Regions from separate parts of the Homo sapiens genome. Here all the other regions are linked to region 3. The links are contacts of gene promoters, found by promoter capture Hi-C in blood cells and fetal thymus (Javierre and others, 2016). All regions are on one chromosome and are shown on one strand. Each heading gives the region's core, a stretch centred on a gene start or on the middle of the fragment in contact. The rest is flanking DNA. Distances are from core to core; before and after follow the strand shown. Region 1 overlaps KIF21A (kinesin family member 21A). Region 2 overlaps KIF21A (kinesin family member 21A). Region 3 holds the start of SLC2A13 (solute carrier family 2 member 13). Region 4 overlaps ABCD2 (ATP binding cassette subfamily D member 2). Region 5 overlaps KIF21A (kinesin family member 21A). Region 6 overlaps KIF21A (kinesin family member 21A). Region 7 has its middle 20 kb from the start of KIF21A.

What was found. Contacts are between HindIII fragments. The CHiCAGO score rates a contact against its expected background, and 5 or more counts as called.
Region 1: a fragment that was not itself captured here is called in contact with the fragment with the promoter of SLC2A13 in region 3 in 4 of 17 cell types (total CD4 T cells, naive CD8 T cells, naive CD4 T cells and 1 more); the score reaches 9.9 in total CD4 T cells.
Region 2: a contact is called between a fragment that was not itself captured here and the fragment with the promoter of SLC2A13 in region 3, in 3 of 17 cell types (naive CD8 T cells, total CD4 T cells and total CD8 T cells). The highest score is 8.8, in naive CD8 T cells.
Region 4: a fragment that was not itself captured here is called in contact with the fragment with the promoter of SLC2A13 in region 3 in 1 of 17 cell types (naive CD8 T cells); the score reaches 6.3 in naive CD8 T cells.
Region 5: a contact is called between a fragment that was not itself captured here and the fragment with the promoter of SLC2A13 in region 3, in 4 of 17 cell types (naive CD8 T cells, total CD8 T cells, total CD4 T cells and 1 more). The highest score is 10.3, in naive CD8 T cells.
Region 6: a contact is called between a fragment that was not itself captured here and the fragment with the promoter of SLC2A13 in region 3, in 5 of 17 cell types (naive CD8 T cells, non-activated CD4 T cells, total CD8 T cells and 2 more). The highest score is 10.6, in naive CD8 T cells.
Region 7: a fragment that was not itself captured here is called in contact with the fragment with the promoter of SLC2A13 in region 3 in 4 of 17 cell types (total CD8 T cells, total CD4 T cells, naive CD4 T cells and 1 more); the score reaches 9.2 in total CD8 T cells.

Annotation. Positions count from the first base shown.
Region 1 is chr12:39,358,887-39,362,129 of GRCh38, reverse strand. All of the region lies in intron 7 of KIF21A (kinesin family member 21A), which reads left to right. Among named protein-coding and RNA genes, the nearest start is that of KIF21A, 83 kb to the left of the region's middle. The HindIII fragment of the contact is 4,505 bases long and covers 1-3,243 here.
Region 2 is chr12:39,414,120-39,417,522 of GRCh38, reverse strand. All of the region lies in intron 1 of KIF21A (kinesin family member 21A), which reads left to right. Among named protein-coding and RNA genes, the nearest start is that of KIF21A, 27 kb to the left of the region's middle. The HindIII fragment of the contact is 264 bases long and covers 1,557-1,820 here.
Region 3 is chr12:40,104,662-40,107,714 of GRCh38, reverse strand. SLC2A13 (solute carrier family 2 member 13) reads left to right here and starts at 1,634. Exons shown (of 10, transcript NM_052885.4): 1 at 1,634-2,462. The coding sequence starts at 1,907. RefSeq lists silencers at 1-99, 1,481-1,730, 1,751-2,010, 2,031-2,100, 2,111-2,200 and an enhancer at 311-480. The HindIII fragment of the contact is 3,714 bases long and covers 391-3,053 here.
Region 4 is chr12:39,572,217-39,575,698 of GRCh38, reverse strand. It overlaps ABCD2 (ATP binding cassette subfamily D member 2), which reads left to right. Exons shown (of 10, transcript NM_005164.4): 9 at 1,858-1,983. Among named protein-coding and RNA genes, the nearest start is that of ABCD2, 46 kb to the left of the region's middle. RefSeq lists an enhancer at 579-1,379. The HindIII fragment of the contact is 389 bases long and covers 1,239-1,627 here.
Region 5 is chr12:39,340,606-39,343,970 of GRCh38, reverse strand. It overlaps KIF21A (kinesin family member 21A), which reads left to right. Exons shown (of 38, transcript NM_001173464.2): 13 at 1,847-1,937; 14 at 2,349-2,466; 15 at 2,877-3,065. Among named protein-coding and RNA genes, the nearest start is that of KIF21A, 100 kb to the left of the region's middle. The HindIII fragment of the contact is 266 bases long and covers 1,369-1,634 here.
Region 6 is chr12:39,324,082-39,327,258 of GRCh38, reverse strand. It overlaps KIF21A (kinesin family member 21A), which reads left to right. Exons shown (of 38, transcript NM_001173464.2): 25 at 935-995; 26 at 1,366-1,420. LOC101927019 (a long non-coding RNA gene) reads right to left here. Exons shown (of 3, transcript XR_007063276.1): 2 at 637-744. Among named protein-coding and RNA genes, the nearest start is that of KIF21A, 120 kb to the left of the region's middle. The HindIII fragment of the contact is 455 bases long and covers 1,393-1,847 here.
Region 7 is chr12:39,461,164-39,464,439 of GRCh38, reverse strand. No RefSeq gene overlaps it. Among named protein-coding and RNA genes, the nearest start is that of KIF21A, 20 kb to the right of the region's middle. The HindIII fragment of the contact is 200 bases long and covers 1,151-1,350 here.

The DNA.
Region 1 (3,243 bases), core at 94-2,593, 750 kb after region 3:
AGTCATGACAAAAGGCAAAGAGGGAGTGAGAACTTTACAGGGCTGGAGCAGGAGGAAGGAGAGGAAGGTGCCAAACACTTTTAAGCAACCAGATCCCCTGAGAACTCTATCATGAGAACAGTTCCAAGAGGGAAATTTGCCCCCAACATCTAATCACCTCCCACCAAGGCCCCACCTCCAACACTGGGGATTACAATTTTACATGAGATTTGTGTGAGGGCACAGATCCAAACTGTATCAACAACTATTATCCAAATAATTTTGGATAATATTAAATCCTTTTAAGTTTATAATCCGTTTGGTTTAGAAATAAAGTTCTGTTTTGGCCGGGCGCAGTGGCTCATGCCTGTGATCCCAGCACTTTGGGAGGCCAAGGCGGGCAGATCATGAGGTCAGGAGATCAAGACCATCCTGGCTAACACGGTGAAACCCTGTCTCCACTAAAAATACAAAAAAATTAGCCAGGCGTGGTGGCGGGCGCCTGTAGTCCCAGCTACTCGGGAGGCTGAGGCAGGAGAATGGCGTGAACCCAGGAGGCGGAGATCGTGCCACTGCACTCCATCCTGGGAGACAGAGCGAGACTCCGTCTCAAAAAAAAAAAAAAAAAGAAAGAAAGTTCTGTTTTGTAGAATACAACATTGTCATTTTTATGTTTCTTCCTTTTATGTACTATTAGCATTTGTCTTAACTCATGTCTCTTCCAGCACATCCTATGTATGGATGCAGTTTTCCTTCCACTATCATATATTTCTTGTGTTCTATATTTTCAGTTTGATCTTCAGTATCAAGAGGGGTCTTATTATAACAGAATAAAAATTTTCATTTTTTCAGCCAAGTGTAAATTTTTTCGGGTTTTCTAAATTGTAGCTTTTTCCTGTATTTATTTCTTAACTATAAAACAAAGCAGACATGATATATGTCCTCCCCTTACTATTTTAACTCTTGAAAACTTCAATACTTTTGAAAGTTTGCTTACCTTATAAGTGGTCTAAGATATTTTCACTGTGGATCTTGAATTTCTGCTGAGTTTTAGGCTACAGCTAAATAGTCTCATGTTCCTCACCTATTTCCTTAATGGGTGGTAACCCCTCAAAGGAGATGACCCCTTCTAATTCCTTTCTTCGTGTGCCTCAATTTTTGCTTAAAATTTTAGGATTGCATTCCTAGTGCAAAAGCACTGTACTTTGTGTAAGCCTTGGAGAGCAAAATATCTTCACTTTTTGAAGTTTATACAAATTAAACTTAAAAGAAAAATTAGACCAAGGATATTTTTGAAAATAAGCTCCATATGTTTATGTGCATAATTTAGTGTCTTTTAAAAAATTCGAGCTGGTTTTTTTACATTTACAGTGTTTAATAAATATCATAACCAGTTTATGGCAAAAATTCTGGAAAATACAGGAAAGTATAAAGCATGAATAAAAATCAGTTATATTTATAGCTGGGCACAGTGGCTCAAACCTGTAATCCCAGTACTTTGAGGCCTAGGTGGGCGGATAACCTGAGGTCACAAGTTGAAGACCAGCCTGGCCAACATGGCAAAACCCCGTTTCTACTAATAGAAACACAAAAATTAGCTGGGCATGGTGGTGGGCACCTGTAGTCACAGCTACTTGGGAGGCTGAGGCAGGAGAATCGCTTTAACTCAGGAGGCGGAGGTTGCAGTGAGCTGAGATTGTGCCACTGCACTCCAGTCTGGGTGACAGAGTGAGACTCCATCTCAAAAAAAAAAAAAATCATATTTCTAATACCTAGAAGTAACTACTGCTAACATTGTGATACATTTTCAAGATGTGTAGTATAACTTAATTTGTAAGAAATATAATATACAATATAATAAAATATTTAAGTGATATAGTTCTCTTTAAAGCAGAATTGTGTGCTTTTTGTGTGAACTTTTAAAATAAATAGCTTTTTTTTAGCTTTATTTTATTTTCTTTGAGTTTTTCATAAATAGAATCATTCTTGAAATTTATATATTTTGGGTTTTGTTTAATATATGATGTTTTCCCTATACAATTGATCCTTGCCAGTTACTCTTATTCCTGACTTTCACTATTCTTCTTAAGCCCTTGATCCCAGCACTTCTCAAAATATTTGTTAAAGGCGAGTCCTTCCCTTCTTTCCAATTTGTGGTGAGTTAATATTGTGCATGACCATACAGAGCTTGCCCCATTTGTGACTCACCATCGGAGTTTGAAAACACTTGAACTGATCTATACTCAATGAGAGGAGGTCATTGATTACAGGAAGTTCAAGTGTTGTGGAAGTTTCTAAAGTGCTTACTTGCAATTTCTGCATTACTTTAAACATTTTTTGTAAATAAGTAAGAAATGGATGTATGTACCTGTGCTTACTCAAGGTGTTGTGGGTCAAAGAAGGCTAATATAAATTTATTTTCCCCAATTTTATGTAAGTAAAAATAATCTGCAGACTGGTGCTAGACTGGGGACCACACTTCAAGTTGCTCTATTCTCTAATCAGCATCCATAATCCTCACGCTTACTGAATTACCTTATTTTCTTTATCAAAAGAGAAAACTAAAATGGCATGAATTATTTTAACTTTCTGACCCCCAGTAAATATTATGTACACATGACACACATCACAATTGTTAATGACCTAATATTGGTTCAAATGTTGTGTTATATGTTTAGAAGTATGCTGATAAATAAAAGTTGATAATCCCTGTCCTTTAGGAATCTAAAGTCTAAGAGTTTTGGGGTCTATAAAATTTCAATATAATAATAATATAAAGAATGCAAAAGAGATATCCAAAAGGTGTGAGGAGGCAGAAAGGGTACAGACAAATGGAGGATTTGGTTCTTGGATTAGGTGATACCTTAGTTGATTGTTGAATAATAGTAACAGTAAGGGTAAGCAAGAGTTGTAGGAAAAAGGTGTGGAATGGGACAAGGGGTACCTACGAGTACTGTGTTGAGATTATTGTCGAAAGAAAAGATTGGAAGCAGGAGACTAGGAGGCTAAGATTATGATTGATAGGCATTGATTTTTCTACCAGGATAAGTAGACTGCTCCTTAATTGCAGTTCCTACACATTTTTTAGTTAGTTTGTGAGTGTCTGTTAGAATCTCCATGTCTGCTTTATTTACAAACATAACATACAAACATAATGGGGCATACTTAGCATTTCACTATCCTAATCTTCGGTGGCTAAATCAATTTATCATGACCGTAAAGTAATGTTTCCCACTTTTCCTATGTAATCTGGCCAGAAACTGT
Region 2 (3,403 bases), core at 439-2,938, 690 kb after region 3:
ATACGAAGAAGCCTCACATAACTGTTCCCTTACTGGTTAAAAAGTAGCCGGCTAATATATTTTCATTTCTTGTGTGTTTCATAACATAATATAAATAGTGGAAAATTTGGTAAAATCTAAAAGCTATAATTGTCAGTATCATTGATATTGGAAAATATAATCATGACTGAACAAAATTGTATCTACTGGAGAATTTTCTGTTCTCCTCACGTGATTCTGGCATTATTAGATGTTGTATTCATACTTAATATTTTTCAAGGTTCTTCCCCACCCCCAATTTAGTACTGCCATATTTTTCTATCATTCTCTCCCATAACACTGTGTCTTCTGATACATTTTACAAATTTCTTTTTTTTTATGTACCCCTTGTTGTAGCCAAATCCTGTTTCTTTCTCATTAATGTCTTATATACTGCATTTTTCTTCTGGCCCCATTCCTAGCCATTCACACACATGGCCTTCATGCTAGTTCTGGTGTTTACTATTTAATGATTGAGTTAGTGCTATAGTCTGTTAATGAATGATACTAATAGCTAACATTTGTATGGCTCCTTGCAGATTAGAGAGTGAATCCTCAAGGTTTTTTAAAATTTTTTTATTTATATGTGTGTGTGTGTACATATATATATACACATATATATATGTACATATCTATATATACACATATATATGTACATATCTATATATACACATATATGTACATATATACACACATATATATGTACATATATATACACATATATATGTACATATATATATACACATATATATGTACATATATATATACACATATATATGTACATATATACACACATATATATGTACATATATATATACACACATATATATGTACATATATATATACACATATATATGTACATATATATATATACACATATATATGTACATATATATATATATGTATATTTAAGGCGGATCTCACTCTGTCACCCAGGCTGGAGTGCAGTGGTGCTATCTTGGCTCACTGCAACCTCCACCTCCCGGGTTCAAGCGATTCTCCTGCCTCGGCCTCCTGAGTAGCTGGGATTACAGTCACCTGCCACCACACCTGGCTAATTTTTGTATTTTTAGTGGAGACGGGGTTTCGCCATGTTGACCAGGCTGGTCTTGAACTCCTGACCTCAGGTGATCCGCCCTTCTCGGCCTCCCAAAGTGTTGGGATTACAGGCATGAACCACCACGCTCGGCTGTCAAGTTTTTTTACTTGAGCATTTTAATCAGCTTATTGTTATTCCTGTTTTAAAGATGACAAACCAGAGACTTTGAGAGTATCAGAGAATATTAATTAAAAGGGCAGTGACTAGGGCCAGGTGTTGCCTTTTTGATTTTTTTCATCTCTAGTACTTGGTGTAGGTATAAACTTTTTTTTTCTTTCTGAATGAATTAAAACTTTATTATTGGCTCTTCAATAGCTTGATTCCAGGAACTGAATTTTGGCCATGCCTTATATCACTATTCCAATAATTTGTACCCTGGCTTGTTGCTCCCTGCACCTTAGTTACCAGCTTCGTTTACTGGTTAGTTCATCATTAAGCTTTCCTTGAACTGATATCAACAACCAAATAACACTTGTACTTGAAAGAAGTGGTCAAAGGATGTGATGCCTATATTTAGAGGAAGAGCTGTCTAAGCAGAGGGAATCCAAATACAATAGCCCTGGAGTGGGAAATTCCCCAGCATGTTTCAGAAATAGAAAGCAGGCCAACATTGTTGGAATAGAGAGTAGGTGGGGAGAGGCAAAGGTGGGAGGAGTTAAAGTCAAGTCAAAGGTAACAAAATGTGAAGCTGATATGTGAAGCTTGAAATATCTCCTGCAGATTGAGAGGGACACTAATAAAGTGTCTTTTCTAATGACCTGCCAGATTACAGAAGTGGAAGATGAGGTCATGGAAAGCTTCTCAGACATAAGGGAGCTAAAATCATTTATGTTTTAAAGAAGCATTCTCGGCCGGGCGCGGCGGCTCACGCCTGTAATCCCAGCACTTTGGGAGGCCGAGGCTGCTGGGAGGCCGAGGCGGGCAGATCACGAGTTGAGGAGATCGAGACCATCCTGGCTAATGCGGTGAAACCCCGTCTCTATTAAAAATACAAAAAAATTAGCCGGGCGTGGTGGCGGGCGCCTGTAGTCCCAGCTACTCCGGAGGCTGAGGTAGGAGAATGGCGTGAACCCGGGAGGCGGAGCTTGCCGTGATTCGAGATCGCGCCAGTGCACTCCAGCCTGGGCGACAGAGCAAGACTCCATCTCAAAAAAAAAAAAAAAAAAAAAAAAAAAGCATTCTCTACCAGACTTTTAAAAAAATTTCCGTCCTGATTTTGAATTTAACTATAGGAACAAAACAAAACAAAAAAAACTGACTTAAGGAAAGGCCAGGAACTCAGTTCTGTTGAACAGCCTTCCTAAGAAAGATTTTCAATGTTTCTCAGGTGCGTTTAGACTAACTTCATTAGGCTTGTCCACAGTGACCTCTAACAGTTACTTGCAGTGTTTTGATGGTGTTTTCCCAGTCCTAGGCTGATTTTGCTTTGCTTTTTTTTTTCTCTCTGATAAACCCATTCCATTAAAAAAAAAAAAAATCCAAAAAACAAAACACTTGTAATCACAGAATGTTTAGCACAGAACCTTGTATATAGTAAGTAATCTTCATCATGTTATTAATATCTAGATCCCCAGTATTCAGAACAGTGACTAATTCGTGAGTCCTTCAATAAACATTTGTTGATTGACTCTCTAAATTTTTGTTATAAATCAAAGTAAATCTTTGTGATTGGGTCTCTTATACCTGCTGACATTATTTTCCTGAGGCCGACTGCATATCTGCTTAGACTTCACTGCCTGCTGCTTAACCTCATTTTCCTAATGTTCTCTGCCTACTGCTAGACCTACCTGTTTTTACCAGCCTGCATGCATGGATTTCTTCCCAGAGTTATGGTGCTTCTGGGACTCCCTAATTGTCAACAGCTAGTGTATCTATTTGATCTTTAGGTCTTACGTTTAACTGGATGAGATGCTTACCAAGACTGTGTAGAATTCTTTAAGAGCCATTTAGAGCTTTAAATTCTTTCTTAAAGATGATTTTCACACTATGTTTGTAGTACATGGTTGTCAGCCAAATATCAGCTAGATCTTTTGATAATAAAGTATTAGAGACAGTAATGTAATAACCATTAATGGTTTCATAGTGAGCACTTTTGGTCTGCTTTCTGCACAGCTGCCCTTTTGTCATTGAATAAATTGTGAGGGAGGAGAGAGTAAAAAGGACAATTGGGTAAAACATAATCTTTATATGACCATTCCTGATAACAGCAAGAATAATTATGCCTAATTCCTTGAGTGAAACATCTCTCAAGTATATAGAATGATTTTGAATATTTCTGCTAATATA
Region 3 (3,053 bases), core at 385-2,884:
GCGCAGTTTTACTATACCGTAGCATGCCGCGGAAAAGGCGCGCTCTCACCTGCAATATTGTCCGAGGTCTGAATATTAAAGAGTTCATTGCTGCAGATCTAAAGGCTCTCTCTGTTTAACTGATGCCTGGGAATGACGGTAGAGCCTTGCTTTAAAGCCAGACGATAACATTTAAATAGTTAAGCCGTCTGGCTTCATTAGTTTATTTTTCCTTGTTGCTGGCAAGGAAAGTACTATATTGTAGAGATAATCGTGACTGATAATCAAAACGAAAGCAGTTTTGACAAATTCTAATATAAGTTTTTACTGAAACAGGAATGACAAAATCCTTTTGTCTGAAAGGAAAAAAGTTATAGCTGCATGAAAAATAGGCCCCAGGCTAAGAAAGCTTTTGCTCAAATAAGGGAAATAAAAGAGCAGTGGAATTGTAGGAATAGAATCATATGATGCTTGACTTTTTGCCCTCAGCCTGAAGAATGAAAGCAAATTAGAGGCACAAAACATCTTTAGCAGTCCCAGCTGCTAGGAAGGCTGAGGCAGGAGAATCGCTTGAACCTGGGAGGCGGAGGCTGCAGTGTGCCGAGATAGCGCCACTGCACTCCAGCCTGGGCGACAGAGCGAGAATCTGTCTCAAAAACAAAACAAAACAAAACAAACTATCTTTAGCCCCTGATGCGCAACTGTATATTTTAAAAACATTTAAATTAAAGGGGGAAACAAACCCCAAATGAACCAACAACTGTTAATTCACTCAACAGTTTAAAAAATTGGTTGCAAATAACGTTATCTTTGCTTTGTTTCAAGTAAATGAGGCTGTTAAAACAGTGCCTCATGGAGGGCAACAGTGGGGATTCTCAGGAGAGAAGCTATCCTACCTTTTGGTTAGCATGTTGGGGCGGGGAAATGGAGACTGCCTGCCGAATCACAAATCAGGGTCTTGAGTTTTCTTTCTATTTCTGGGAATTACCCGTTACATGAGTGGAATGCATATATGTGAATTTTCTTTTACAGGTCGGGGATCCATGGAAGGAGGGTTTGGGATTCACCACAGAGATATGTTCTCTGTCCTCAAAGAATCAAATGTACCATTCCTTTAAAATAAGCATAAATTGAGGAGGGACTGGCGATGAGAGTGGAAACTAGCTATAGAAATGGGAGCATGCAGCCCTGAATTGCTCCAGAACAAACACATTTAATGCCAGGGAAGTAGACCACGCTGGGTAATGTCACAATACTATAAAAGGAAGGGTACTTGCTAGGTCCTATTCTAGGATATTTTTTCCAGCCCTCTCTCTAGGCTGCTGGAAGGACAGTGAGGCTGGTTTAGGTGCTCTCTCCCTCCTCTCCAAACACGGCAAACATTCTGGGTGGCTTCCCGTCTGGAAGCCTGTTGCCTGATGGCATCGCCACATTGGCTTGCTCCACCGCTGCAGCTCGGAAGGCAGGGTTAATTCCATACGGTTGCCAGAGCCCTAAATGAGGGAGCCTAGGTCAGAGGTCGCACCCACCGGGAGGGCGGGGTTTAGGGGTCCGGGGCGGGCTGAGCCTGGCCCCGCCCAAGGAGGGGGCGGGACGTTTCCCGGGCCCCGCCCCGCCGGCCCGGGGTTGCACGTGACCCGCGGTCCCGCCTCCCGCCCGCTCCGCAGCGCCAGCTCGGCAGGCGCGGGGCGTGAGTGTGGAGTGAGACCCGCCGGGCTCCAACTCCGCAGCGTCGGAGCGCGGCGGGCAGCAACTTTCTCCCCGGAGCGGCCGTGGCGGCGGCTGCTGCCGTGGCAGCCGGAGCGGAAGCCGGGAGGAAGAAAGCGGCGGCAGCGGCGGTTGCTCCCGCCGGCTCGGGCTGTCTAGCTCGCCGAGACTGCCGGCCCGCGGAGCCGCGTCCCCCCGGGCAGCCCCGGGCCCCTGCCCTATGTCCCGCAAGGCAAGCGAGAATGTGGAGTACACGCTGCGGAGCCTGAGCAGCCTGATGGGCGAGCGGCGCAGGAAGCAGCCGGAGCCGGACGCGGCGAGCGCGGCCGGGGAGTGCAGCCTCCTGGCTGCCGCCGAATCGAGCACCAGCCTGCAGAGCGCGGGCGCGGGCGGCGGCGGCGTCGGGGACCTGGAGCGCGCGGCGCGGCGGCAGTTCCAGCAGGACGAGACCCCCGCCTTCGTGTACGTGGTGGCCGTCTTCTCCGCGCTGGGCGGCTTCCTGTTTGGCTATGACACCGGGGTGGTGTCAGGGGCCATGCTGCTGCTCAAGCGGCAGCTCAGTCTGGACGCGCTGTGGCAGGAGCTGCTGGTGTCCAGCACGGTGGGGGCGGCTGCCGTCTCGGCGCTGGCCGGAGGCGCCCTCAACGGCGTCTTCGGCCGCCGCGCTGCCATCCTCCTGGCCAGTGCCCTCTTCACCGCCGGCTCCGCGGTGCTGGCTGCGGCCAACAACAAGGAGACACTGCTCGCCGGCCGCCTGGTCGTGGGACTCGGCATCGGTGAGTTCGGGCTCCGTGAAGGGCGCCCGGGATCCCATTGTCACCGCCCTTGACCCTGGGTGTTGCGTGCCTCTTGCCCATCGGGGTCCCCGTCTGGTCTCCCAGGGTCAGAGAATCCTCCACTTCTCTGGCCTCCAGAGCCCATCTGTTTGTTGGTCCAGCCTCCAAGGCTCTCCCGGGAGGTGGGAGGGTCGGGGGGGAGGGGGTGTCACTCTAGTCTCCCTCGAGCGCACGTGGAATCTTTGATAGGCCACGGACCAGTCAGTCCAAGTGGTTGTTGCCTCTCAGCACTTCCAGAAACCTAGCTGAGCACCAGCTCTTTCCTTGATCCAGCCTAACCTGATGCTGCTTCTTGAGCTTACGAGGGTCTCTGCTTTCCTGCACTGTCCCACCTTGCCTCTCCACTGCTAGCCCCTTTCGTTTTCTGGGGCTCCCAGCCTGGAACCTAGACCATCGTCAAGTTACAGTGAGATAATATTTAGAGTTAAGTAATTCTGGACTCTGAAAGGTTTATTAGCGACCCCTGCCCTCTTTGCTTATCTAGCATTTGTCTTTAGATGGCATCTCCTTTTGCTTTTATGCTTTTTCTAT
Region 4 (3,482 bases), core at 184-2,683, 530 kb after region 3:
AACTGCCTTCCCTCATTCTCAAATGATTTAAAGTTTGAATTGTGATGTGAAAGACTTGAGCTGGCAAAAATCAAGAACTTTAGCAGGAAGTACTAAGCATCACAATAGTATTCTCTTTTTGAGAGGATTTTAAATGTTTTAATAGCTCAAGAATGATTGAAAAACTCCTGTCTTAAGGGGATAGATTAAATCCTTCACGAAGCCCATTCTACTGATGATACACAAAGCAAAAAGGAAAGCAAATCTGAGAAACAATATTACCTAATGCTTTTTTTCTTATATCAGTATCGAATTCTAGCTATTGCTTGATATATTCAAGTACACACACAAACACACACAGACACACACCAGCCCTGCCAAGGAAACTAAAACATGTGATCTTACATCTGCTAGAGTAGAGGTTGCTATGACAACGGAGTGTAAGATGCATACATTTTTCTAATTCTAAAATGGTATATTTTCTCTGTTTCGATCAAGGCACTCTGAAAAATAAGCCAAAATGCAATAAACATGTTAATCACTGGAAAGAGGTTTACACAAAAGGAAAATTTTACTCAACCTTTCACTTTTATACTTCCTTTACTTCTTCCTCTTGTTCACTTAAAAATATCATTCATCCACAAAACAGAAAATAACTCTGAGACAAAGAAGTAATGCTTAATACTTAAACCAGAACAGTAACCAAAGGTCAAGCAGTGACACTACTTCTGTTGATGTTGTCATGGAGAACATGCACTGATCTTTTATTCTTTGCATAGGGAGCAGTTTTAGAGTCTTTGACTCCTGTATCTATTAGCCCTGACTACCTGACCTGTGGTAGGTAACTGGATTCTATTAATAAGCAAATCGATTTTAGGACAGTAACTTACAAGGCAAATAATGATTTATTCTGATAAGAAATTACTGATTTTCATTTTTTTAACTTTTTTGTCATTTTATTTTTAAAAATCAGAATTTTTTTGTAAAGAAAATTGTCCCGGCAAATACCTGATACTGATTTTCAACTCCAAATTGAATAGTAAATGACAGTGTAAGAGTTGACTTTGTTCCCATTAACTAAGCTAAGTCATGCTAAGTACCAACAGTCCAGAGGGACTTGAAAGAAGAAAGGGAAAGGACAAAGAAAAGTAAGAGCAGGGGGTGAGATGAGAGGGAGAAAGGATAAGCAGAGGGAAACAATGGCAAGTGATAAGATGCCTCTGATAACAGACAGGCATTATCAAAGTAAAAAATAAGCTTAAAAAATTGTCCAATATACTTAGAAAAATATTTACTTTTCCTCCTAAGAATTTGATTCTGGAGTATGGTTCCAATATTATGAGGTTAAATGTGTGTTATAAATTTGTAAGATGAGCCACATTCACTCTCGCAGTCTTATAGTGATGAAATTCCATTAGTAATGCTTAGGTATTCATATTGCTGATAAAATAATCTTCTCATTAAATCTTTGCTAACAGGGCTGTGGCCTGTTTGATAATTAGCTACTGCAATGTATTTTTCATGTAGTTAGTCAGACCCTTCTCACCAACAATGAACCTGCTTTCTGCAGGAAAATGTACTCAGTGACCTGCCTCATCTTTCCTATGTCCCATATTTATGATTCATTCATCTACAAGACAATAAAGCTTATTGTATTATTAGAAAGCGTCAGAAAATCTATTTAAATGTATTAAAAATGTGATATTATAGTCCAAAGAAGGGGACAACTACTTTTTTGCTTTATCATTTATTGCCTTTAATAATGCCATAGTCTTTTTTGCTCCATTAAAATTGTTAGCAATGCAACTCATATTGTCCAAAGAAAAACTTATAGTTCATATAGCAAAATAATTAATTTTTGTGTGTACTTTTTAAAAGACCAAAATATGCCTTGCTGGATGAATGTACCAGTGCTGTCAGCATTGATGTCGAAGGAAAGATATTTCAGGCTGCAAAAGGGGCTGGAATTTCCTTACTGTCTATAACACACAGACCTTCTCTTTGGTAAGTGTTTCTAGTGCTAATTTGTGGTAGATGGTTTTTCCTTAAATTTCTCAAAAAATAACTTTGCTAAATTTTTCACAGTAGAGGGTAGGGTATTTCACTTATTTTCTACCCATATTTCTCTTAAGTTGCACATTAGTAGCTTAGATACTCCCTACCTAATATCATTAGTGTATTATTTGAATTATCATCAGTTTCCAGTAATTCTTAAAAGACATGGAAAAATCCAGTGATTTATTTTAATGGAAAATATTTATCATTACCCAGTAACATGTACTGGGAAAAATATATTTATATATTTGTACATCATTCTTTTAGTCCTTTCTCTAAAACCCAGGAAAGTAAAATCTGGGGAAAAAAATATATGTACACACAACTTGATACTCCCCCAAAGGATTAAGTGGAGAAAACACAGGTGGTGGTGGGGAAGGGGGGAGGGCTTATTTTTAGTTGGTTTAAAGAAAAATGAGCTAAATTTTTTTAGAACTAATATCTCATAAAACCATATAGAATTTCCCCTTCAAATAAAGATGCTAATTTTACAATTCCCCTACTTTTCCATTGATTCATCATCATCATAATAGTTGAGCACTTATTCTGTTCCAGGTACATCTTATTTAAGCCTCACAACAACCCTGTGGAATTTAGGAAATCTAATCTTCCTATTTTACAGATGAAGAAACTGAGAACTAGAAAAGTGAGATACTTCCATGATCACATACTCTGTACTACAGCACACGGCTCTCATTATAAGGAACTCAAAGTGTATCTCATGCATTAACCATAAATACTACATTCTCTACTTTTGCATTTCTATTTAATCAATGAAAATTTTTTCTTTTGACTTCTTAGTAACTATAACTGTCTCTATATATGCTTTGGCCTCCTGTTTTCTAAAGGACTGCACAGGATTCCTCCTCTCTCTCTTTCTGGCTGCAGCATTCTGTGGCAGGTGGCTGATCAGATTTCATGCCAAAGTTGTCATGATGTACATGGCTTCAAATCTAGCCTAGTAGCAAGCATTATTGGAATTAATCCTTGAAGCCCTTCTAGACCTTTGACCTTATAAAGAATGTTTACATTAAAATTGTTAGCAAACAGTATTCATCCAATCAGGCTTTTATTGTTCAAAATTCTTTGACTCTGAGTTTCATTTATATTGAAAAGATAATCTATTTTCACACTCAGTTTAAACCTTCAGATTTTTCAGAATTTTTAAAAAATATACTTTCTGGATCTAGTCCAGCATGAGTTAGGATCCATGCCAATGAATATGCTTCCTCTGACTTTTATCCTGAAGAAGACCAACAGGACCTAGATCTTTAAGACAATAATGACATTTGCCTGTAAATCCTCTGAATCAAGGACAACACAGAGCTAGGCCAGTACTCTTGAGCCCTTTTTGGTATGAACCTTGATTTCCAGACTTTCTCCCAAATTAATCACATGTTGGGACATATTAGGCTTGGAGTTTTTCTGACCTGTGTTAATGGATTTAT
Region 5 (3,365 bases), core at 252-2,751, 760 kb after region 3:
ATCTTTATGCATCTTTGAAACTGTACCATTCTGCTCCAACCGAGCTAGTGCATGAGACACATAGGCATGTTCAAACAGAGGTGCTCATGCATAGTCACAGGGATTGGTTTATTTAACAAACACTTACTTCACATTCATTATGTGCCAGGACCTGGGTACTAGGGATGTAATGCGGAGGCAAACAGACACGATCCCTTCCCTTAGGAAGCTGACTGCCTAGTGAGAAATACAGACACTAAATAAATAATAACATAAACATAAATGACAAACTCTGAAAAGTCCTTACAAGGGAAAAGTATTTATATTCATAGTGCTCAGTAGAAAAATATCTCTGAGAATAGAAACCTAGAGTTAATCATTAAAGTTATAGCTATAATAGGGCCTAAATGAGATTAAGTTTTTAGCCTAGAAGCTAAAAATCAATCCATGTATTAGGGAAATTATTTAATATAGAAGAATATATGAAAACATGATAGCTGTTATTAAGCTATTCTGATAAAGTTGTAAAGTTTTTTTTGTAGAGGAATTTTACTTTTAGAATATTGCATTATTTGAGTATTCTATTTATTTATTTTTTAAATTTATTGTAATTAATTAATTAATTTATTTTTGAGACAGAGTCTCGCTCTGTTGCCCGGGCTAGAGTGCAGTGGCGCAATCTTGCCTTACTGCAACCTCTACCTCCCGGGTTCAAGCGATTCTCCTGCCCCAGCCTCCTTAGTAGCTGGGATTACAAGTGTGCGTCACTATGCCAGGCTGTTTTGTATTTTTAGTAGAGACGGGGTTTCACTATGTTGGCCAGGCTGGACTCAAATGCCTGACCTCGTGATCTGCCCGCCTCAGCCTCTCAAAGGGCTTTTTAATGATTTTAAAATGCTACTATAGCACAAAAGGAAATAGTTCATATATAGATTCATTTAAAGTTCACTTAATGTTGTTTAGCTTAATTAAATATGTGAGTCTAGTGATCAATAGTGTAATTTCTGTGCATAGTTGATTGCTAAACCCACAAAGGATTCGAGTTATTTGGGTGTACGAAACTTCTCTCTTTTCCTCAGGGCCACCAGGGCTGAATTAATTTAGCTATAATCATTCCCTGGTATGTGTGTAGTTATGGCTGTAGGTACTAGGTAACTTAAGAGGAGAGCTTCCAATTATAAGGTGAATCTTGCGGCAGACCCTGAAATTTTCTATTCAATCAAAGGGCAGCCTGAACATTAGACAGTTTTTGGTATGCAAAGACACATTGTGTGAGACCATAATGAGAAGTAGCCTTGTGCTGTACGGGCAGCCTAAGAAAAAAGAGCCTGTGCCACTACCTGAAGGAGACCTGAAAATACTGATGGATATAGCTAGTGTAGACAAGCTTACTGTGGGCAGATTTAAACTGGAACTTTAAATTTACTCTTAAATGTATTAGGACATCAGTGAAAATGTAGTTTTTTATATCTTTGTATTTATATGAGAGAAGTTTTTTTGTATTCAGATGAGAAAACAAAAATGTTTGATTTCTTTTCAATTTAAATTGCCTTACATTCTAGTTAATTGGCTGCTACTGTGACTAGTTCTTAGGGGTGTCGAGGTCTCGTGCTTTCGGGCATAATCTATTCCTCAGTGTTTTCTGAAAATAAGCTTTTCTCCAGTGATATAAATCATTACACTGTTGATTGATTGGCAATTTCCATTTTTCTCTGAAGCATCAGATAGAATAGCTTTGCTCAGTTAAGTGACCAACATTTAAAGTTTGTTTTCACAAATCATTGATGGCTTCTAAAAATCTGAGGGAGAAAAAGTGAATAATTTTCCTTTCTATTTTAACACCATACCCTTATGTTCCTTTTTTTAGTGTGGCTGGTAAAGAGGATAATACAGACACTGACCAAGAGAAGAAAGAAGAAAAGGGTGTTTCGGAAAGAGAAAACAATGAATTAGAAGTGGTAAGTATGAAAGAATGAACTTGTCAGTTTTAGTCACCAGGTTTGGTTGTTCTTGGTTGATGATAACTTACTAACTTACTTGTAGAAAAGTGAACTGCTTATGATGCATTCTGTTTAATCTATTTCTTTGAAGATGTTTCTTCAGAGATACAAGCTATAAAATATTGACAACTCTCAATCTTATGTATTGTGAAAGCATTGTGTTGGGGAGTCAGGGGTAGAATACTATGAGAGATGAAATACTTTTTGATTTAAGACAAAATTACTCTGTAATAACCTTAACATTTTTATACTGATGACAAGTGAATTTTTTTATGTTTCCGTACTTTGTACTCCAGCAGCCTCTCTCAATGAGGGAGTCAGTTTGTTTTGCCAATATTGTGCTATTAATTTTTACAAATCACATTTTAGGAAGAAAGTCAAGAAGTGAGTGATCATGAGGATGAAGAAGAGGAGGAGGAGGAGGAGGAAGATGACATTGATGGGGGTGAAAGTTCTGATGAATCAGATTCTGAATCAGATGAAAAAGGTACTTGCCCTTTGGTATAAGGGCAAAAATTCATTTTGGGAAGTTGTTTAAACCATGACAGAAAACTCTTAACATTCTCTATTTCATACTTGATGAAAGAAACTTCTGTGACCACTGACCTACATTTGCCTTCCAAGGCTTATGTGCTAAACAAATGAGTTACTTCTCTTACTGGATTTAGTCATTGTGTGATTTCCATTCTTACCTAATACAAATAGCATTGTCCTTGACCAAAATGAACACTCTTTATCTCATTCACCTTTTGGTTGTTGGTTTTTCCAGGAAATTTTTCTAATAACTACTAAGTGAATAAAAATACCTAGTTGATGGTTTTTATGGTCTGCTTGAAAGCTAGAATTCTGATATTTTGGCCTAGCACCAGGATTTTTATTTTCTTCTTTTATAAATAGCCAATTATCAAGCAGACTTGGCAAACATTACTTGTGAAATTGCAATTAAGCAAAAGCTGATTGATGAACTAGAAAACAGCCAGAAAAGACTGCAGACTCTGAAAAAGCAGTATGAAGAGAAGCTAATGATGCTGCAACATAAAATTCGGGATACTCAGCTTGAAAGAGACCAGGTGCTTCAAAACTTAGGTAAGAATTATATTTAATTCAAATGAAAGTTCAAGCTAAATCTTCAAAATGGGTTTTTATCTTTTCCTTTAGAAGAAAAAAAATAGAAGCCGTATTAAACCCTTTTTTGTTATTTATTTGTTTTGTTTTTGCAAGTCAAAGTTTGTGCCTTTTATTTAAAAGTTATATGTAGCTTGTAAATACTTTTTGGCCACATTATATGTTAATTTGTCTCATAATGTTAAATATTGTTATTTGTTTTGTTTTTTCATACCGATATCTGCCTAGGCTGTTTACTTACTTTATACAAATTTATGGTTG
Region 6 (3,177 bases), core at 371-2,870, 780 kb after region 3:
GGAGAGAAATGAATCAATTGACTAATGGTGCCATAGCCTACCTGTATTATATAAAATTAAAAATTAAAAGGGGATGAACCCTATATATTTTTCTTTAATGTATATGTTGCTCATAATTTTGTCTTTAGATTTATTGAATGATTTTTATAATAAAATATACATTAAAAAAACCTACACCTATGTTAGGGGCTCGCTGGCATTTTAAGTCGTTTACTTTCTGTGGCTGTTTTATTTACTGACTTCCTAACAGTTTTATATGTTTAATTCTTCTCCCTTTTCACTAGTCTACTACAGTTGTTCTGAAATAGCAGTGGTTTATTTGTATTAGTTTACAGAGCTGTTGCATGCAAGCCTATTGTTTTTGTCTTCTGTGTTCATGTGAATGAGCTGCATGCTGATGTGTGACTTCTGAACACCCTCATGCACACCTTCTCTCTGTATGTAGGCAAAAATACAAAAATTAAAAAAGGAAAAATATTCAAGTACATTGGCATAACTGATAAAGTATAACAACTATATTTACACTTTATGTAGTATTCTTGGTTGACTCAGTACATTAAAGGAGGCTCATGTAGCATTTACTTTATATTTTTAAACAGTGGATTATTGTATGTTTGGATGGTACAGGATACGTACATGACTCTTCAGTATTCATATGTACCCATCTCATTCAGAAGGATGTTACTCTTCTACAGTTTACCATTCAAAGTCATGGTTTTCCTATTTGAACATGTTTTACTCATTCTAGAACACACAATCAAAGGAGAGTTTTTAGAAATACTTTTCTACAATTCTGTCTATTTAGATTCAGCTACTAAAACCATCGTGCCCATATTGAGATGTTGAGCTGTTGTTTATTACAGCCTATGGATTGCAGTCACCATTCAAACTGTGACATGGGGATAATGCTTACATTTTAAACATTTTTTTGTAGAAAATGTAGAGGATAGTACTGATGAGGATGCTCCTTTAAACAGCCCAGGATCAGAAGGAAGGTAAGAAGGCCTTTAGAAACAATAGAGTTGACTTATTTACATATTTTAAATACTTTCATCTTGTATCAAACAATTACCATAAAACAGAAATAATTTTCAATCTAATGGCCTAGTGAATAGCACTTAGAAACAGTAAATAGAAACCAAGTTAAGTCATGCTTAACTATCATAAATTTTAAAATGAAAATATTGAAATATTTAAGGAACATAAATGAATTATTTTTAAATTAATTCATTTTGACTTTAAATATTGTCTTTCTGTATTTCCCATAGGCATATAAATTTTTTGTAGTCGTTGATATAGAGGAGCTATAGTTTTCTATAATAATTTTCTATTTAATCTTGTGCTTAATTATTTATTTGCACATAGCACGCTGTCTTCAGATCTCATGAAGCTTTGTGGTGAAGTGAAACCTAAGAACAAGGTAAGGAGAACTAAAAGTATCAGGTAAACATGTTTTACACCATTATTTGTTATCACTATTTAACACATAGGTTCAGATTTGACTCTTAATAGATTAGCAAGAGGGCATGGTTTTACTAAAGCTCTTCTTTATTTAGTTTTTTTAATCATATTTCCCTTTAAGTGGTAACTGAAAAAATTTATATTAAAAAATTTCTCTGGCCAGATACGGTGGCTCATGCCTGTAATTCCAGCACTTGGGAGGCCAAGGCGGATGATCAGGAGGTCAGGAGATGGAGACCATCCTGACTAACACGGCGAAAACCCGTGTCTACTAAAAATACAAAAAAAAAAAAAAAAAATTAGCTGGGCGTGGTGGTAGGTGCCTGTAGTCCCAGCTACTCGGGAGGCTGAGGCAGGAGAATCTCTTGAACCCAGGAGGTGAAGCTTGCAGTGAACCGAGATCGCGCAACTGCACTCCAGCCTGGGCGACGGAGCGAGACTCCGTCTCAAAAAAAAAAAAAAAATTCTCCTTGGTGGAAATTGGGCTTTACTGTATTCTTATATTTTTCCCACTAGATAACACAATTATGGAGGGTGATTCTTAAGCTGCTGATTAACTAAATTGTAGACTCTGTAGTGGCATACAATCTCAGTCATTTAGATTGGCAGGAGATTTTTAAAATTTTAGCATTCTAGTGTGTTCTTAAGTGTTTCTTATTTGTTTAACTGTGCCTTGAGGTGGTTTTACTAATAATCTAATCTGTAATTATTATGTGTTAAAAATTTATGAAGCTATGATGCGTATTTGTAGGGTTTTAAAAAATGATATAAATTATACATGCAGTTAAATGTGTGAGATAGCTATGGTACATATCAGGTTGAATGTGGTAGCATTTGATAGTAGGTGATTTGACTAACAATCATACAATGTTTGAAAACAAAGAATTCTTGCAGTGCTTATTAAATATTGTTGAATGAATGGATTGAATCAGGACCTGAAATAATAATACTGTGCAATGGATAGTATATATTTAAGGCCCACAGTGGTTAATCAGGTAATGCAAATGACTAATTTAGCTGGATATACAATGAACGGTTCATCATTATGATTTCCTGGAGAGTACATGCCCCATCTAAAAGGAAATAGCCACCATCAAGTTTTGCTCATTTTTGCTGTGTGGGAATATGGGCCTAAGGCTACCAGATCCTTTGTTTTTTCAAGAGAATTCTTAAATACGGATTTTTACATAGATTTCACGGATTATTAAAACACTGGTTAAGCCAATCAAAAAACATCTCCAGGCTCTTACACATGATCTTTGAGCTATTGGCTTCGCAACATGTGGTTTGTGTTTTATTATTCTAAGTGTCTAAACAGAAGTTACCAAAACTCAAATAAAACATTCTGCTATGGTTCGGATCTAGTCCTAAGCAAAGGAGAGAATCTCTTAAGATAAATTTGATCTTTCAGGCTCTGAGAAAGCCTATTTAGTTATGCCACTGTGGGACATTAGAGAGAGATGTGAAGTGGTGGCCTAAAGGTCATCTCCTGAAAGAACCACCTGGCTTAAGAATTCCCAAGAAAAATTTCATCTCTGCTCTAGGTTCTTGGCTGTGGAGAGAATTAAGAGTATAAAAAATGGCTACAGGGCTTTCTCTTTTAAAACATTTTCTGAAGTGCTACCTGCTACTCCGTTTGAACTGCTAAGATGCCTGAAAAGGATCTCGTATCATTTCTTTTTTTTTTTGAGGCAGAGTCTTGCTCTATCGCCCAGA
Region 7 (3,276 bases), core at 1-2,500, 640 kb after region 3:
AAAATAAATACCATAAAAATTCTGAAACTCAGAGAAGTGAAGTGACTTGTTTGCACTTGGCAGTAATTAGGTGGATTCATACTCCAACCTAAGTCCTCTGATTCCAGAGAGCAGAACTGTCAATTCTCAAGAATTGACAGTTCATGTGTCTGAGTGTGTATTTATTTAAAAGTTTTTATTACAGCGAAATTATCATCCAGAAAGGTTGCTACCAGTTGATACACAATGTAATGAAATGGTTAGAGCATTGACTCTAGAGCCACTTATTAGCTGTGAGACCTCAGTATAAGTTACTAAGCCATATTGTGCCTCAGTTCAACTGTAAAATGTGGATGACAATATAGCACCTAATCATAGGGTTACTGTGAGGATTAAATGAGTTAATATATTTAAAATATGGATGACAATATAGCACCTAATCATAGGGTTACTGTGAGGATTAAATGAGTTAATATATGGAAAACACTAAGAAGTGTCAAACGTTGCCAACATTTGTGATTCTATCAGAAAGCCATTATTAGTAACAATCTAAAGGATCAAAAATGCCATTGACTTTTTGCCTTATTTTGCATTTTCCTAATTACTACTAAGGTGAGCACCATTTTGTGTTGTTGTTGTTTGGTATGATCTCTTCTGTGAATGGTCAGTCCATATCTTTTGCTCATTCTGTAAAATTTTTTGGTCTCTTCATTTTGATTTGTAGGAGATTTATAACATATTCTGGGACTGGGCGTGGTAGTTCACATCTGTAATCCCAGTACTCTGGGAGGCCAAGGTGAGAGCATCGCTTGAGCCCAGGAATTCAAGACAAGCCTGAGCAATATAGGGAGACTCCTTCTCTACAGAAAATTTAAATATTGGCTGGATGTGTGGTCCTAGTTACTGGAGGCTGAGGTTGGAGGATCCCTTGAGCCGGTGAGGTGGATACTGCAGTGAGCCATGATTGCACCACTGCACTCCAGACTGGACTACAGAGTGAGAGTCTGTCTCAAAAACAAAACAAAACAAAACAAAACAAAACATATTTTGGATATGAATCCTTTGTAATACATATATAGCAATCTTTTGCTTTGTCACTTATTTTTAACTTTGTTCAAGTTGTCTTTTTTTGTAGCAGTTTAAAACTTTTATGTACTCAACTTGTCAAGCTTTTCTTTTATAAAACTTTTGATTTGTATCATATATTTTGTAGTTACTTCTAATACTTACATAGTTTTGGTTTTTATATATGGGTATTTTATACCTTAAAAATTAATTTTTGTGTATGGAGGGAGGGATCTCCCTCTTTCCCTCCCAAATGAGTAGGCATCATCACATGAATAATTTGGAGTTTGATAATCTGTTCAAGCTTTAGCACTTGCAGTCCTCACCCCTCAAACCTGCTCTCTGGTTTCCCCTCTGACCTCTTTCTAAAAGATAGGGATATTTTAATATCCTGATGATATTTTCTATCATCAGAGAGGGAGAGTGAGGGAGAATGAGAGGGAGTGAGAGAGAGAGAGAGAGCTGGTCTTCCTTCCTTTTTTTTATAAGGGCACTAATCTCATTATGAAGGCCACGTACTCATGACCTCATCTAACGCTAATTATCTCCCAAGGGTCCCATCTTGAAATATTATCATATTGGGGGTCAGGGCATTAACATATGAATTTGGGGGTGGGGGACACAAATATTCAGTCCCTAAATTCCATCCTTGGTCCCCCAAAATACATGTCTTTCTTCCATGCAAAATACATTCATTCCATCCCAATAGCCTCAAAAGATTTAACTAATTCCAGCATCTACTCTAAAGTTCAAAGTCTCATCTAAATATCATCTAAATAAAATATGGGTGAAACTGGACTTATGATATATAGTGAGGCAAAATTCATCTCCAGCTGTGAACTTGTAAAATCAAAAAAGTTATATGCTTTCAAAATACCCTGGTAGAACAGGCATAAGATAAACATTTCCATTCAAAAACGGTCATTTCAGAAGAAAGAAAGGAGTGACAGGTCCCAAGCAAATCCAAGTCCTGGTAAGGCAAATTTCATTAGATCTTAAGGCTTGAGGATAATCCTCTTTTGCTTGATGTTCTGCTCTCTGGATACACTGTGGTGGCTGCATTGCTCCTTTGTTCCAGGTCAGGGTCCCACCCCAACAGCTTCAGGCAGAGGCTGTTTGGCTGGTTAAAACTAAGGTAGTGGCCTTGATCACCCTCTTAATCACCTTCAGGGTCATTGTTGCCTCTTGATGAATAGTGCATGTTCTCAGCCAAATGGCACTATCATCCCATCCTATCAAATCCAAGAGGTCTAAAAGCCTTCCTTTATTTCATCCCATCTCAATCCCCTTCAGCTCAAACTTGCAATGTTTCTCTTTGTATAATTCCATAAACTCTTTAACAAGTGACAGTCTAGCAACACCTCTGGTGTGCTTTTCAGAATATGCTTTCTTATTTTTGCAATATGGGCAGCTGAGAACTTCTTAAATCTTCAAGTTTTGGGTTTTTTTGTGTGTAACAATTCCTTCTTTAATTCCTCTCTCTCTATTCACGTTTTACTATAAGCAGTCAGGAAGAACTAAGCCACTCGTTCAACACTTTGCTTATATATCTCCTTAGCTAAATACCTAGTTTCATTGCAAGCAAGTTCTGCCTTCCACAAAACACTAGTACACAATTTAGTCAAGTGTTTGTCACTTTATAACAAGGATTGCCTTTCCTCTAGTTCTGATAACAGGTTATTCACTTCCATCTGAGACCACACAAGAATCACTAATGCCCATATTTCTAATATGTGCCTCAAAACTCTTCCAGCCTCTACCCAGTACGCAGTTCCAAAGCCACTTGCACAAATATGTTTAGATATTTGTTACAGTAGTACCCTACTTTTTGGTAACTAAATCTGTTTTAGTCTGCTTGGGCTGCCATAGCAAATACCTTAGATTGGGTGTTTTAAACAATGGAAATTTGTTTCTCATAATTCTGGAGGCTGGAAAATGCAAGATCAAAGTGCTGGCCTATTCATTTCCTGGTGAGGGCTTGCTTTCTGCCTTGCAAATGGCCACCTTCTCACTGTGTCCTTACATACCTTTTTGTGCATGTGTAGGGAGACAGAGACAGAGAGAGGGAGAGCAAGCTCTCTAGTGTCCCTTTTTACAAAGGCACTAATCCCATCATGAGGGCCTCACCCTCATGACCTCATCTAACCCTAATTATCTCCCAAGGACCCTGTCCCTTCATACTATCACACTGGGTATTAGGACTTCAACGTATTAATTGGGGAGGTGGAGGAG